Regions from separate parts of the Homo sapiens genome. Here all the other regions are linked to region 2. Evidence: promoter capture Hi-C in 16 types of primary human blood cells and fetal thymus (Javierre and others, 2016). All regions are on one chromosome and are shown on one strand. The core of a region is centred on a gene start or on the middle of the fragment in contact, and the rest is flanking DNA. Distances in the headings are between cores, read along the strand shown.

What was found. Contacts are between HindIII fragments. The CHiCAGO score rates a contact against its expected background, and 5 or more counts as called.
Region 1: the fragment with the promoter of HAPSTR1 here is called in contact with the fragment with the promoter of DEXI in region 2 in 8 of 17 cell types (M0 macrophages, M2 macrophages, non-activated CD4 T cells and 5 more); the score reaches 16.8 in M0 macrophages.
Region 3: a fragment that was not itself captured here is called in contact with the fragment with the promoter of DEXI in region 2 in 1 of 17 cell types (endothelial precursors); the score reaches 5.1 in endothelial precursors.
Region 4: a contact is called between the fragment with the promoter of USP7 here and the fragment with the promoter of DEXI in region 2, in 12 of 17 cell types (fetal thymus, non-activated CD4 T cells, M1 macrophages and 9 more). The highest score is 15.6, in fetal thymus.
Region 5: a contact is called between a fragment that was not itself captured here and the fragment with the promoter of DEXI in region 2, in 7 of 17 cell types (naive CD8 T cells, activated CD4 T cells, total CD8 T cells and 4 more). The highest score is 13.3, in naive CD8 T cells.

What each region holds. Positions count from the first base shown.
Region 1 is chr16:9,090,345-9,093,044 of GRCh38, reverse strand. It overlaps HAPSTR1 (HUWE1 associated protein modifying stress responses), which reads right to left and starts at 1,401. Exons shown (of 4, transcript NM_014117.3): 1 at 775-1,401; 2 at 44-124. The coding sequence starts at 1,000. RefSeq lists enhancers at 1-101, 2,371-2,700 and silencers at 252-751, 962-1,301, 1,472-1,541, 2,330-2,460. The HindIII fragment of the contact is 14,700 bases long and covers 1-2,700 here.
Region 2 is chr16:10,941,084-10,943,783 of GRCh38, reverse strand. It overlaps DEXI (Dexi homolog), which reads left to right and starts at 1,316. Exons shown (of 2, transcript NM_014015.4): 1 at 1,316-2,215. The coding sequence starts at 1,779. The coding sequence ends at 2,066. It also overlaps a transcript of CIITA not described here. RefSeq lists a silencer at 1,177-1,726. The HindIII fragment of the contact is 2,950 bases long and covers 1-2,396 here.
Region 3 is chr16:9,120,986-9,123,685 of GRCh38, reverse strand. HAPSTR1 (HUWE1 associated protein modifying stress responses) reads right to left here. Exons shown (of 4, transcript NM_014117.3): 4 at 2,051-2,700. Among named protein-coding and RNA genes, the nearest start is that of HAPSTR1, 31 kb to the right of the region's middle. RefSeq lists an enhancer at 1-197. The HindIII fragment of the contact is 6,607 bases long and covers 1-2,700 here.
Region 4 is chr16:8,962,542-8,965,241 of GRCh38, reverse strand. It overlaps USP7 (ubiquitin specific peptidase 7), which reads left to right and starts at 1,336. Exons shown (of 31, transcript NM_003470.3): 1 at 1,336-2,035. The coding sequence starts at 1,957. USP7-AS1 (USP7 antisense RNA 1) reads right to left here and starts at 2,529. Exons shown (of 2, transcript NR_184341.1): 1 at 2,348-2,529. RefSeq lists a silencer at 874-1,233 and an enhancer at 2,429-2,700. The HindIII fragment of the contact is 5,189 bases long and covers 1-2,700 here.
Region 5 is chr16:12,082,471-12,085,170 of GRCh38, reverse strand. The region is part of intron 11 of SNX29 (sorting nexin 29); the gene reads right to left. Among named protein-coding and RNA genes, the nearest start is that of SNX29, 110 kb to the right of the region's middle. The HindIII fragment of the contact is 5,369 bases long and covers 1-2,700 here.

The sequences.
Region 1 (2,700 bases), core at 152-2,651, 1.9 Mb after region 2:
GCGGCCCTTCCCTGAATCGGCAATGCAGCAAGGTTATCTTTACCTTTGTAGAGATTGGTGACGGCGGTGGCTGCGTTTTGGAAGGGGACCCAGAGAGAAAGTCCTGGCTGCTGACACACTCGGTCTGAAAAGCAAGCCAAAAAAAAAAAAAACCAAAAAGAAAAAAGAAACACACATAGAAAGAGAAAGAAAGAGAACAAGAATGTTATTTGCGCGTCAATCACTCCGGAACGGCCATATTAGGTTTCGCCATTTTGTTCAGGGGTTTCGGGATCCCAAACCCAGTGTGAGGACCGGGGGGGCAGGGAGGTCGCGGCGGGGAAAAGGGGATGCCGCAGAGCTCAGGGGCACAGATCAGGGACGAGCCGCGGCGCAGGGAAGCGCCCCCCCTGGCAGTCCCCGCCCCGAGGCCGGCTCAGGGCACAATGGGGCCGCCCCGCCGTCTCCCTTCGCCATTTTGTGACGGGGGCTCCTCCTCTCCCGTCTCCGGGCCGAGGGGGACACCGGGTGGCCGGGCCCGGAGAGCGGGGACCCTCGGACCACCCCAAAGCGGGGCTACCCCCACGCCGGCTCTGGCCTGTCCCCCCAACCCCGGGCCTCCCTCCCGCGGCGCCATCTTGCGGGGAGGGGGCGGCAGGGCCGCGGAGCCACCGGCCGGGATCCCCGAGGCCGCCGCCGTCGCGGCCCCCCGAAGCGGCCGCTGAGCCGATAGGGCCGGGGCCGGGCCCGGGCGGGGGCGGCCAAGCGGTACCAAGATGGCGGCGGCGGCCTCACCTTTGTAGAGCTGGGCCACGGCGGTGGCCGAGTTCTGGAAGAGGTGCCACAGCTTCTGCTGCTTGTGCTCGGGCTGCGCGGCGGCCGCCGCCTCCTCCTGCAGCTCGGGGGGCAGCTGCTCGTCCTGTTCGGCCTCGGCCAGGCACTGCCGCTCCCACTTGGAGAACCAGTGCTCGGGCCCGTGCTCCTGGATCTCGGCCTCGCCCTCCTCCTTCCGCTCCTCCATCCTCCGCGGCCTCCCGCGGCCTCGCCGCCACCGCCGCCGCGTCCTCCTCAGGCGGGGCCCCCGCGGGAGCGTCGTCGTCAAGCGGCCCGGCGGCAGGGCCTGGCGACCGACGGCGCCTTCTCCTTTCAGCGGCCCAGGCCTCCTGCACCCCGACGGCCGGCGAGCCCCGCCCCGCGGCCCCGTGCAACCAGGGACGACCCCCGCCCCAGGCCTTCCCACCCCCGGGCCCGGCCGAAGGTCGCCGCGGACCAGATAACCGCTGCCGCCCCTCGCCTCGGCCGCCGCAGCCTGTCTAACGCCCCCCCATGGCGCTGCGGCCTCCCCACTGCCGCCGCCGCCGCTGATCGCCGAGCCCTCCGCGCAGCTCGGCCTGCACCGCGGAGCCCACCCCAAGACTGAGCAACGTCGTCGTCGTCGCCACCGCCGAGGACGGCTCTGCGGCTGCTGGTCCCCGCCCTACCCCGCCCACATGCTGACAGGAGAAGCACCGCCCACTGGGCCCAAGCTACCCTGCCCGGTTGAGGCGTGGCCGCTCCAAGGGCCCCTATTAGTCGGATCCGGCCGGTTCCGCGTGGCGGCTTCTGAGCACAGCGTCGTGATTGGTTCTTCGGCCTGTCTGCCTGACGTAACCAATTGGCTGGGGGAAGGGAGTGAATGTCAGGAAGGATGAAGGAGGAGGAGGGGGAGGAGCTGACAGTGGTTGCGTCCGAGCCAAGGGGGCGGGTGGGGGGTGGAGGGGAAGAGCTAGAAGGGATGCGCATGCGCACTTGCTCGCTGCTCCCCCCCCCGCTCAGGGGCGTTGAGTGGGGATCACGTGACGAGGCCCAGCGACCGCACCCCGCGGGAGCTTTTCCGGCGTGTACAGGCCCTGGGGGGATGCAAAGTCGAGTGCGGCTCCTGTGCCGCGGGCACTGAGAGGTATAGTGGGTGGTAGCGTGCTTACTCCAGCCCCTGGGGCTCCCAAAGGGAGGAGGGTAGTAGAGAAAGTGAATAAAACGCCCAACTCGTGTCCAAGTTTGCAAAGCGCTTTCCTATTCTTTTGAGTACTCCCCCTTTTTTTTTTTTTTTTTTGAGACGGGGTCTTGCTACGTTGTCGAGGTCTAGACTGCTGGCCTCAGGCGATCTTCCAGCCTCCCAGGGCGCTGGGATTACAGGCTTGAGCCACCGCGCCCGGCCCAGAGTCCCATTTCTTAGACGGGCAAATCGACCATCACAGCCAAAGAAAAACTTCCGAGTTGCGAAGTCGGCTCAGTTGCCCCTGCGCCCTGGCGTCCCCCGAGGACGTCGCGCCTTCCGGGTGGACAGGACCTCGGCGGCCGCCCGCGGAGCCAAGGATAACCCGACGGCCGACGGTGCCCGGTGCCCGCACGCGTGCGTCTGCGCCTTTGCGCGCGCGGCGGCCCCCGCACCTGTCCCGAAAAGCACACTCCCAGGCCACGTGCATGCCCCGCGTCACGTACCGGCCCCTGCCTTCCCCGGCCCGAACCCGCGTGGCGGTGCCGAGCGCTGCGCCCGCCCCTACTCCCCCCGCAGTGCGCGATAGCTGGACGCCCCTGCGGCTGCGCGCCCCCCTCCCCTGTCGGGGCTTTCTCCAGGGTCTGAGGCCCCGGAGAAGGCAGCAACGCAGACAGGCGGTGACCGCACAGAGGCAAAACCCACCATCCCCACCTACATGCCCACGGGAGGCACCATCCGGCCTG
Region 2 (2,700 bases), core at 67-2,566:
AATGAAAAAGGAAACACCCAACTTTCTGCATGAGCCAGAATATATCTAACTTCTACCCTGGATTAGAAGTGGTAAGTTCAGTGTGGGCAAGACTTCTCAAGTTTACCATCCATTCATTCATTCAGTCACTTCTACATATCAACCTTATTAAAGGTCCACTGTGTCCCATTAACTCTGCTCAAGAAAGAACTGGGCCAGAGGCCAATGTTCTCCCCAGTGCCTAGCACAAGGTTTGGCACATAGCAGGTGTTTAACAAATATTGGTAGAGTGCATGAATGAGTAAAGGTTTGTTTCACCTTCAGCAGTTGGAGAAATGGATAAGAGTGGAGAGTTAATGGTTTGTCCTGTAATTCATATAGAGTGGGGCAAGACAAAGTCATGGAGCAAAAAAGAACAGGATCTGGCCTCCAAAGAAACACACCCAGGCTCAGAAATGTAGGATCCCTGGGCTCGTATTTTTCATCTGTAAAAAGTACGCACATACATACTACACTGCCTTGTATACCTCCGATTAAGCGATGCATGTAAAATACTCAGCTCAGTGTGGCCTGAGATTTAAAGGTTTCTTGAACTGCTTTGGAAGGCTCTTTGGGCGAGATCATGTTTTCCTGAAAGACATGCAACGGTTACCCAAGAGCAGGGGAACCAGTGGGTGGGAGAGACTCACTTTTCTGTGTACTTCACGGTTGTTTGAATGTTTAGCCATGTGTATTATTGCTTTTAAACATGATTCACAAAGTAAAAAGAAACAAAAAGCATCCTTATGGTTGAAGATCTGAACTACCTCGGAATCTCTTTATTCAGGTGTTCCTTAACTCTAGGATGCAGGTTCCGTAGTGGGCGGACCTTCCAGCAACCAGAGTTTGGAGAAGCGAAGGGGACACTGGTGGATCTCCACCATGAAAATTGGCGCTTTGGGAATGTCCAAAATTTCCAGGGCAACCGTCCGTCGCCCCTCCCCGACCCCGCCTCCTTTTAAAGGAGAAACGGAGTCCCAAAGAGGCATGCAGCAAGGTGCAGCGGTAGCCCGGGTTTCCTTCGGCTTTTGCGGCCTTAGCATTATGTCTAGGTTTGAACTGTGTTCAGTCTCTTTTACCTCCCCCTATTCGATACGCAGAGCGAATTCGATTTGAGATCTGAGGGCAGACCCGAACCAGGAAAGCAACTCAGACGCTAGGGCCCCGAGGGGCGGAGCGAAGCGGTACCCGCCCCCTGGCGGCCGGAGCCAATCAGCGCGGGCGTTGAGCCGGCCAATTAGCGCGTGCAGGGGGCGGCCTGCCAATGAGCTCGGGGCCCCTCGGGAGGCGGAGCTCCGAGCGCCACCGGGAGGGCTACGCGGCGGCCGCAGCCATGGGTGCTGGGCCTGCGGGGGCGCGGGGGGTGCGCGAGGACCTGCGGGGCGGGGCGGGAGAGAAGGCTGCCGGGACCGGCCCTAGACACTGAGCCGCGGTGGGATCCCCACCGGCTCTGCGAGGCCCTGCGAGCGCCAGGGAGGCGCCACGAGGGAGCCGGGCAGCCGCGGGCCACTTCAGGGGGGCCCGCCTCGCCGCCCGGGCGGTCGAGAGATCCTTGGGGGCACATCTCGGGGTGCGGTGACCCGCCCGGCGCATTTCGGGGGTCGGGGCGCAATTGCCAGGGGACATCTGGAGCCCGGCCCTGCTTCTGTCGGGCTCCAGGGTACCCCTGGATGGCTGCGCTGTGCCCTCGCCGGCCGCCCGGGCGCCGCAGCGGCTGAGTTCGCCGGGATCGCCGGGCCGCCGCCCTTGCCACCCGCTGCATGCTCGGCGCCCGGGTCGCGGCCCACCTGGACGCACTGGGCCCCCTGGTCCCCTACGTGCCGCCGCCGCTGCTGCCCTCTATGTTCTACGTGGGCCTGTTCTTCGTCAATGTGCTGATCCTGTACTACGCCTTCCTCATGGAGTACATCGTCCTCAACGTGGGCCTCGTCTTCCTGCCCGAGGACATGGACCAGGCGCTCGTGGACCTCGGCGTGCTCTCCGACCCCGGCTCGGGCCTTTACGATGCTGACTCGGAGCTCGACGTCTTTGATGCGTACTTGGAGTAGGGTCTCGACTGCTGTTCCCCTCTTCCCTACACGATCCGCAACCCATGCCCTGGACCAGCCGCCCAGATCATGCCGCCGCAGCTGGTTGGGGGCACCATCTGGACGGGGATGGTTCCCCAGGAGGAGACCCTCCCCTGCCTCCGAGGCCTGTAAGTGCCCTCTCTGAACAGGATGAGGGCGGGTTGGGGCGCTAGCAAGGGAGAGGGAGGAATTCCCAGGCCGGATACACACCCCTCCCTCAGGCTTCTCCTCCGTTCACCTCCTCCAGGTCTAACTGGATGCCAGGAATGGCCAGACTCCTCTTAAGCCCTTCGTTTGGGCTGGAAAGCTTCCTCCAGCAAAGGGGACAGCTGGTGAAAAGGAAGGAGACCCCGAGACTAAGTTACATTTGGGGTAGCTCTGTGACTTACCCCCAAAGCTTATGGAAAAAGCCTTCGCTCCCAAATCCATTTGAGGCAGAGCTGTCAGCTCCTCCTCCAGTCCTCATCCTGGCTTGATGATGACCTTGGCTTTTGGGGGATTCTCGCTTGTCCTAGAAGGATAAAGATTTAGGGGTGTCAGAAGACACAGGGAGCCAGGCACGAATCACCTTTGTACTGTGGCCCTTGGGGTAGCTGGGTGGGGATTAAGTGCA
Region 3 (2,700 bases), core at 201-2,700, 1.8 Mb after region 2:
GCTGGAGGCCAGTGCAGAACCCAGAAGCGAGCCCTCGGACTCTGAGAAGGGAATCTTATCCAGCCATGCCACGACAAGCACATTTAAAGGCTAACATCTGAGTCCTCACTTCGCACCAGGCATGGTGCTAGGCATCCTCCACACCATAACCTTGAGGGAGGGGCCCGGGAGGCAGGCCGCCAGTGGGACTGTCACCTACACCCTACTGACCCCAAAGTCCTTCTCTTCACCACCACCCTAGTTCTTGACAGACCTAAGGCCCAGGAAGAGGAAAAATAGGGAGTTCCTTGTGAAAACCTAGAAAACTTCAAGCCACCTTTTATGAACTCATTCAAGAAATGTCTATACCTACCCTGTGCTGCATGCTGAGGTCCAGAGAGCCCAGGTTTTCAAGCTGGCTGTGAAATCAACACAGTTGGTCACATACAACATCCTGTTCAGTGAAACAGCAAGAAGCTATAAAGTGCATTTGACATAAAAAGCTAAGAACTGCTGAGACCTGTTTCATCAGTTCTGTGTGTTCATTCACAAAAGGTGTGGCTGGGTAAAAGATCTTGATGGGAGAGGTATTTCTTACCACAGATCATAGTCCAGTATGTCTGAGAAACACTGAGGATGGGCAAGAGGCGAGCCTTCCTGTGCCCAATGCAATTGTGTACGCAAACACAGTTCTATACAACATTCACATTAACCTAAGAGACCCCAAACAGCAAATAAGAACTTCTTGGTAGTTACAAATTTCTACATACACCTTGAAATCAACATGGCCATGGTGATCTTGAGACTCACCATGGGGAAAAGAGTTTGGGAGTGATTAAGCTCCTGCCCACTACACTCAAGGACAGTTTAGCAGGTGATCCCCTTTTCCCCAGGGAACTTCAGCCCTGGCACCGCCACTCCTGAGGAAGAGGTATGAATGGTCTTAGAATCCTTCCTTAAAGCTCTAAGTTATAGTGGCACATACCTTGGTGGGTTTATAGAGGGCATTCAGATTATGAGTCCACAAGCAAATAGTTCTGAGTGTTGAGCCCACTGGACCCACCGGTGCCAAAAGCAGCCCAGTGGTAGCTGGCTGCCCCAGGCACCCCCAAACCCTTCTTCCAGGGTCAAGCTACAAAACTCTTGTCAGCCAGCTGAGCCCTCCTTGTTGCTGAAGCTGCAGAAAACCACAGGCCTTCTGAAGCTCCCAAAGGCAATTCCACTAAGTGATGAGAGCCCCAACACTTCCAGCAGCAACTCAGAGAACACGCCCACCAGGCCTAAAACACAAGCAAATGCTACGGCCCTCCCCAACAGCGGCCGTGCACAGCAACCACACCAGCACCCCATACTCCCTCTACTTGGGCTAAAGGGGAGTAGCTTCCCTGCTTGAGGGTTAAGTACTAGTGAAGTGAGGCAGCCTGTACTTGCCGGCCTGTGGCATCTCCTAGGAGGGCATTCAACTTCAGTTTGAAAAATTAAAATCTCTCTTACATGTGAACAAGCCCCTTCCCTGAAAACTCACCACTTAGTGTGTTACCTATCGAGGCTGCAGTGAGCTATGATCGCACCAAAGCACTCCAGCCTAGGCAAGAGAGTAAAACCCTGTCTCAAAGAAAAAAGAAAGGGCTAATTTTTCTTTTTCTTTTTTTTAGACGGAGTCTTGCTCTGTCGCCAGGCTGGAGTGCAGTGGTGCAATCTTTGCTCACCGCAACCTCTCCACCTCCCGGATTCAAGTGATTCTCCTGTCTCAGCCTCCCAAGTAGCTGGGACTACAGGTGCGTACCACCACGCCCAGCTAATTTTTGTATTTTTAGTAGAGATGGGGTTTCACCATGTTGGCCAGGATGGTCTCAATCTCTTGTGACCTCGTGATCTGCCCGCCTTGGCCTCCCAGTGCTGGGATTACAGGCGTGAGCCACCACGCCTAGCCAAAAAGGGCTAATTTTTCAATGGCATGTTAAGATAAGCTATCAGCCACATTCCAGAGTTCTCCAGGGCTCTGCTGATGGGAGAATTATAAATGGAGATGTAAATGTATCCAACTTCCAAGGAACACAAGTCACTAACATTCACATTTTTTAATTTATTTTTCTATGTTTTCTATTTATTTCACAGATGAGAAAACAGCCCAGAGAGGCAAACTTACCTAGGTTCCCAGACCTGGTAGTAGAGTCAGCATTCAAACCCACGTGATATCAAGCAAAAAGTCTTCCTTCATACGAGCAGGTAAAAAACAGATTAAAACTGAAAGGTCACTTCTGCCAAAGGAAGTATAAATACCCAACACTGGCTACGATGTAAGGGAACAGGCGCTCTTACTTTCTGATGGAAGTATTAACTGGTACCTTGCAGAAGGTACTTTGGCAAGACCCATCAGTATTTTATAGATGAATTTTTTTGACCCAGATAGTTCATCTACAGAAATTTGTCATAGAGAAACTTAAAACATAGGCCAGGCGCAGTGTCTCATGCCTGTAATCCCAGCACTTGGGGAGGCCAAGGCGGGCAGATCACTTAAGGTCAGGAATTCAAGACTGGCCTGGCCAACATGGTGAAATCCCGTCTCTACTAAAAATTCAAAATTAAATTAGCTGGGCGTGGTGGCGCACACCTGTAGTTATAGGCAGGAGAATCGCTTGAACCCGGGAGGCAGAGATTGCGGTGAGCTGGGATCGCACCACCGCACTCCAGCGACAGAGACTCCATCTCAAAAAACAA
Region 4 (2,700 bases), core at 87-2,586, 2.0 Mb after region 2:
CACTTGCTGTGTATCCCAGGCATTTGTGATACAACAGTGAGCAAAACATTCTTTCGGGGGGAAGGGAGATGAACAGTACATAAATGGGAGAAAAATGCAGGGAAAGCGGGTATAGGGAGATGGAGAGAAGACAGGTACCACAATCTTCTGGCCTTGTTAGGGTGAAATTCTATTCTCCCCTGAGATGTGTAGAAATGTATATCGGTTTGCTCCATTTTTATTGACCCACACTGCCTTGATTAACTGGAAAAGTTGAGACCCTAATCATCAGTCTGTCAATGACTGAATGAGACAGGACAGGAGATATATTCACCAAATGTCTCCTGGAATAGGGAGGCCCCGGGTGAATGATCCCAGACTGGGTTGATAGGAAGGAAGTAAATTAATACCAAATGTGAAGGGTAGTGGGCTTGTTTTATTTTTATATTATTATTTTATTATCACTATTAGTTGAGACAGGGTCTCATTCTGTTGCCCAGGCTGGAGTGCAGTGGCGCCATCTTTGATCACTGCAGCCTCAGTCAACCTCCCAAGCGAACCTCCAGCCTCAGCCTCCCAAGTAGCTGTCACTACAGGCAGGAGGCACAACACCCGGCTAATTAAAAATACATTTCAAAAATATAAAAACAAAACCCAAAACCTTTGTAGAGAGGGTGGTCTCTTACTCTTGGCCTCAAGTGATTCTCCCACCTCGGCCTCCCAAAGTGCTGGGATCACAGGTGTGAGCAGCTGCGCCCCGCCTGGGGTTGCTCTTGAGGAGCCAAACTTTGCCAGATTAGGCTGACAGTGAGAAAATAAATTCTTCCACGGTAGATACTGGGTGAAAAAGTGCACGTCAGCGGGCAAGGGTAAGTAACGACAATAACAGGAACTTCTAGGCGCTGACCCCAAGCTCCCTTCCGGGCCCTATCCCGAGCAGTCCCCGGGCAACCTCCAGCGCTCGCCCCGGCGCGCTAGGCTGGGACCTGAACCCCGGCTGCCGGGTGGCTTCTGGGCCCCTCCTCATTGCCGCTCCTGGGTCTTTCGGGGTGTCCGGCTCCCCAGGATGGGAAGGATTCCGGTTCACCTCCGCAGGGCTAAGTCACCGGGCGGCCCGCCTCGGCCCCCAGGGCCCGGGGGCAGGGAGCGCCGAGGGTCCGCCGCGGGGCTGCGGCGCAGGCGGTGCCGGGGCGCGGCGCTGCGGGGCAGGCGGGCCTCGGCGGCGGCGGCAGGCGGGTCGCTCCCTGCTCCGCCTCCCGTGCTCCGCCCTGCGCTCCCGCTCCGCCCTCCGGCTCGGCGCCCGCCCGCTTGCTCTCCTCGCTCGCTCGCTCGCTCCGCGGCCCCCCATGCGGATGTGACATTTCACGCCGCCGCCATTTTGAGAGCGAGCCGAGCCGAGCTGCCGGGCGCCGCGTCCGCTGCCGGAGCCCCGACGACGACGCCGAGGAGGCGGAGGCCGCGGCTCTCGGAACGCGGCCGGCCCGTCGCCCGCCCGCTCCGCCGCTCCCGCCGGCCCCAGGGCCCGCAGGCCCGCCGCGGCCGGCCAGGCCTCCCGTCCGCCGCGCCCGGCCCGAGGCGGGGCTGACTCCGCGGCCCCCGACCGGCCGCCCTCCGCCCCCGGCCGGCCCGCGGCCCCGCAGCCCCGGCCCCGGCCCCGGCGGCGGGAGGCGGGCCCCGCGGCGGCGGCGGCGGCGGCCGCAGCGAGCGACGAGGCCGCCCGGCCCGGCCCGCCGGCCGCCCGCCCGCCTCGGCGCCGAGATTGGGCGAATCGCGAGCAAGTACGTGCGCGTCTCCCTGCCGCCGCCGCCGCCCGCCGCGGGCCGCCCCGGGGCCGCCGTCGCCGACGACGCGCGGGAGGAGGAGGAGGAGGCCGCCCCGCCGCCGCCGCCGCCGCCGCCGCCCCGGCTCGCCGCCGCCCGCCCGCCGGGCTCGCAGCCCCGGCCCCCGGCCGCAGGCGAGGCCCAGGCCGCGGCCGACATGAACCACCAGCAGCAGCAGCAGCAGCAGAAAGCGGGCGAGCAGCAGTTGAGCGAGCCCGAGGACATGGAGATGGAAGGTGAGGCCCGAGGGCCGGCCGCGGCGGGGCCGGGGGGCGCCTTTCATTGTGGCCGGGGGAGCCGCGGGAGCCACGCGAGGGGCTCGCCATCTTTAACCAGGCCCCGGGCGGCCGCCGGGCCTCGGCCTGGCCTCCCGGCCCCGGCCTGCGAGGCTGCAAAGTCATGCCGGGTCCGCGGGCGAGGGGCGGCCGCCGGGACCCCGGCCCCGTGCATTGTCCCGACCTCGCGTCCGCCGGGCCTCCGCGGCACAAAGCGCCCTGAGTTGTAAATTCGAGCGCTCAGGCAGCGGAGGGACGGAGGTGTTTTCTCACCCAGGTTGGGAGGCGGACTCCGGGGACCGTCCCCGTTCTGGGGCGTCCGGTTGGATCTGGTGTGGCTGGGGAATTCCTGACCTCCCCGGGCGCGGGGCTCGCCCGCACCTGCTCCGGTGCGCTCCCCCGGAGGGCGCGCCGTGGCTCGGAAGCGCTCTTCCAAATCACTTTCTAACAGCACTGCCTAGCGTCGGGCTTACGTTCGAAAATACCTGCAAGGAACGCAGATGTTGTCAGGTTTTGGACTGGCCCAGAGTTCTGACCCGGGCGCTGTTGGTTTCCGAATCCACCTGTTTTTCGGGGAGTTTGTACTTGGCAGTGTGTGGTGCAGCCAGCATCCGGCCAGGTGTGCG
Region 5 (2,700 bases), core at 195-2,694, 1.1 Mb before region 2:
GCCACTGGCCATGCGGGTGACTTCAGACAAGGGGAAAGGGCCCAGAGGGGACAGAAGACACTCACTGCCCTGGGGATTTCTTTTTTTTTTCTTTTTCTTTTTGAGACGGGTCTAGCCCTGTCACCCAGGCTGGAGTGCAGTGGTGTAATCATAACTCACTGCAGCCTTGACCTCCTGGGCTCAAAGAATCCTCCTGCCTCAGCCTCCCAATTAGCTGGGAATACAGGTACGCACCACCATATCCAGGTAATTTTTTTTATTTTTTATAGAGACAGAGTCTCACTATGTTGGCCTGGCTAGTCTCAAACTCCTGCCCTCAAGTGATCTGCCCACCTTGGCCTCCCAAAGTGCTGGGATTACAGGTGTGCGCCACTGCACCCGGCCTATTTATTGACTCTTAACTCTGATCCTGATGCTGTTCTAAGCACATCACAGTTATCTTCATGGCCGCCCATGATTTGGGTGTTGATCCTGTCACTCTATCTTGATAAGGACACGGTACTGAGGGGGCTGGGGCCACTCAGCTGGAACCTGAGCCCAGGCAGCTGAGCTTCCGAGTGTGCCCTCCCGGCCCTGAGGGCACATGGCCTCCCGAGAGCAACAGGCACAGCTGCAACTCCAACCCCAGGTACAGCTCCGTGTGCCCGAAACAAGAACTGGGAACCTACCTGCAGAAATGCAAGGCATCCCTGAGGCAGAATTATGGGTGTTTTAGTTTGCTCCAAACTGTCTTTACTGCTTTGCTAAATAATTAACTTTTTCACTTTGGAAAGCCGAGGTGGGCGGATCACAAGGTCAGGAGTTCGAGACCAGCCTGGCCAACATGGTGAAACCCTGCCTCTACTAAAAGTACAAAAATTAGCTGGGTGTGGTGGCGGGCATCTGTAATCCCAGCTACTCATGAGGCTGAGGCAGGAGAATAGCCTGAATCCGGGAGGCGGAGGTTTCAGTGACCCGAGATCGTGCCACTGCACTCCAGCCTGGGCGATAAGAGCAACACTCCGTCTCAAAAAAAAAAAAAAATTAACTTTTTCATAACAGGCTTTTGTATTTTCTGAAGTACCAGAGGGCCTTGCAGTAGGAGAACAATCATGTGGGTCTGGATACACCATCTTCTCTTCAGTAGTAAATAACCACAAGAATACAGTCCCTCTGAATGCCTCAGGACAAAACACCCTTTGCAATTTCAGAGATACCTGAGAGGGAAAGGTTGCTCGATAGAAGACTTCACAATTATCCGCAGGCACTGAGGATTAAATTACCTAGCTCTAGCTCAATTACAGTACAGAGGCAGCCACCTCCACAGATTATTACACGAAGCCAGGGAAGCCACTTGGCGGGATGTGAGTGAAGCATTCGCTGCTTTGTGGGGCAGAGCTGATGAGTTTCTTTGCCAAGCTCCTCTGGGGTTTCCAAGAGTCCAGTGACTGCTCTAGAGGAGAATCTCAGGTGCTTCACATGCAGCAATGGGATGCTCCATCTGAACTGGGACGGCATTTGCGACACTCACTCCTGGGACAACTCATGCTATGGACTGAATTGCATCCCTTCCCTAATGAACCAGTGGAAGACCTAACTCCCAATCGGAGTTTATATGGAGACAAGGCCTTAATGAGGTAATCAAAGTTAATAAGGTCATAAGCATGGGGCTCTGATCCCACAGGACCGGTGCCCTTATAAGAAGAGATAAGGGACACCAGGATGTGCCTGCAGAGGAAAGGCCACATAAGGACAGAGAGAAGGTGGCTGTCTGCAAGCCAAGGAAAGAGGCCTTACCAGAAATCAACCCTGCTGGCACCTTGATCTTGGTCTTTCAGCCTCCAGAACTGTAAGAAAATAAGTTTTGAGGGGTTTTTTTTTTTTTTGAGACATAGTCTTGCTCTGTCGCCCAGGCTGGAGTGCAGTGGTGCAATCTCAGCTCACTGCAGCCTTTGCCTCCCAGGTTCAAGCGATTCTCCTGCCTCTGCATCCCGAGTAGCCGAGATTACAGGTGCCAGCCACCACACCATGCTAATTTTTTGTATTTTTAGTAGAGACAGGGTTTCACCATGTTGGCCAGGCTGGTTTTGAACTCCTGACCTCAAGTGATTCCCCCCACCTCGGCCTCCCAAAGTGCTAGGATTACAGGCATGAGCCACCGTGCCCGGCCGAGAAAATAAGTTTTTGTTGTTGAAGCCACCCTATCTGTGGCCCCTTGTTATGGTAGCCCAAGCAAATACCCCGGACACCCAGACAGACCCACTCTTCTTACTCCTCTTGCATGTGACACAGGAGGTGATGGCAGGGTGGGAAAACACAAGTGAAAACCACCCTTCGCTCAAAATTTCTAGGATTCCTGACCCCTCATCTGTGCTGGATGACATCCAGGGTAGACAACAGCACTGTCCTTGAAGACTCCTAAAGGTACAGGCACCGCAGAAGACAGAAGCCCCTTGTCCCAGCCACCCACACACAATCCTAACCACAGACCACGTTTCTACCAAGTATCAAGGCTCAAATGCAGACATGGTGACATTTTTTTCTTCAGAGATTCAAGGTATAAGCTCTGGATATGTCCCAAACTTGCTCAAAATGCCAAATAATAAAATGATATAGTTTCTAAAAAATTGTCTGAGTCAAAACAAGAAAAACAATCTACGCCTCTGTCACTGGCCTAACTCGAGCATGTTTAAGGGCATGTATGTCATCACTGAAAATGCA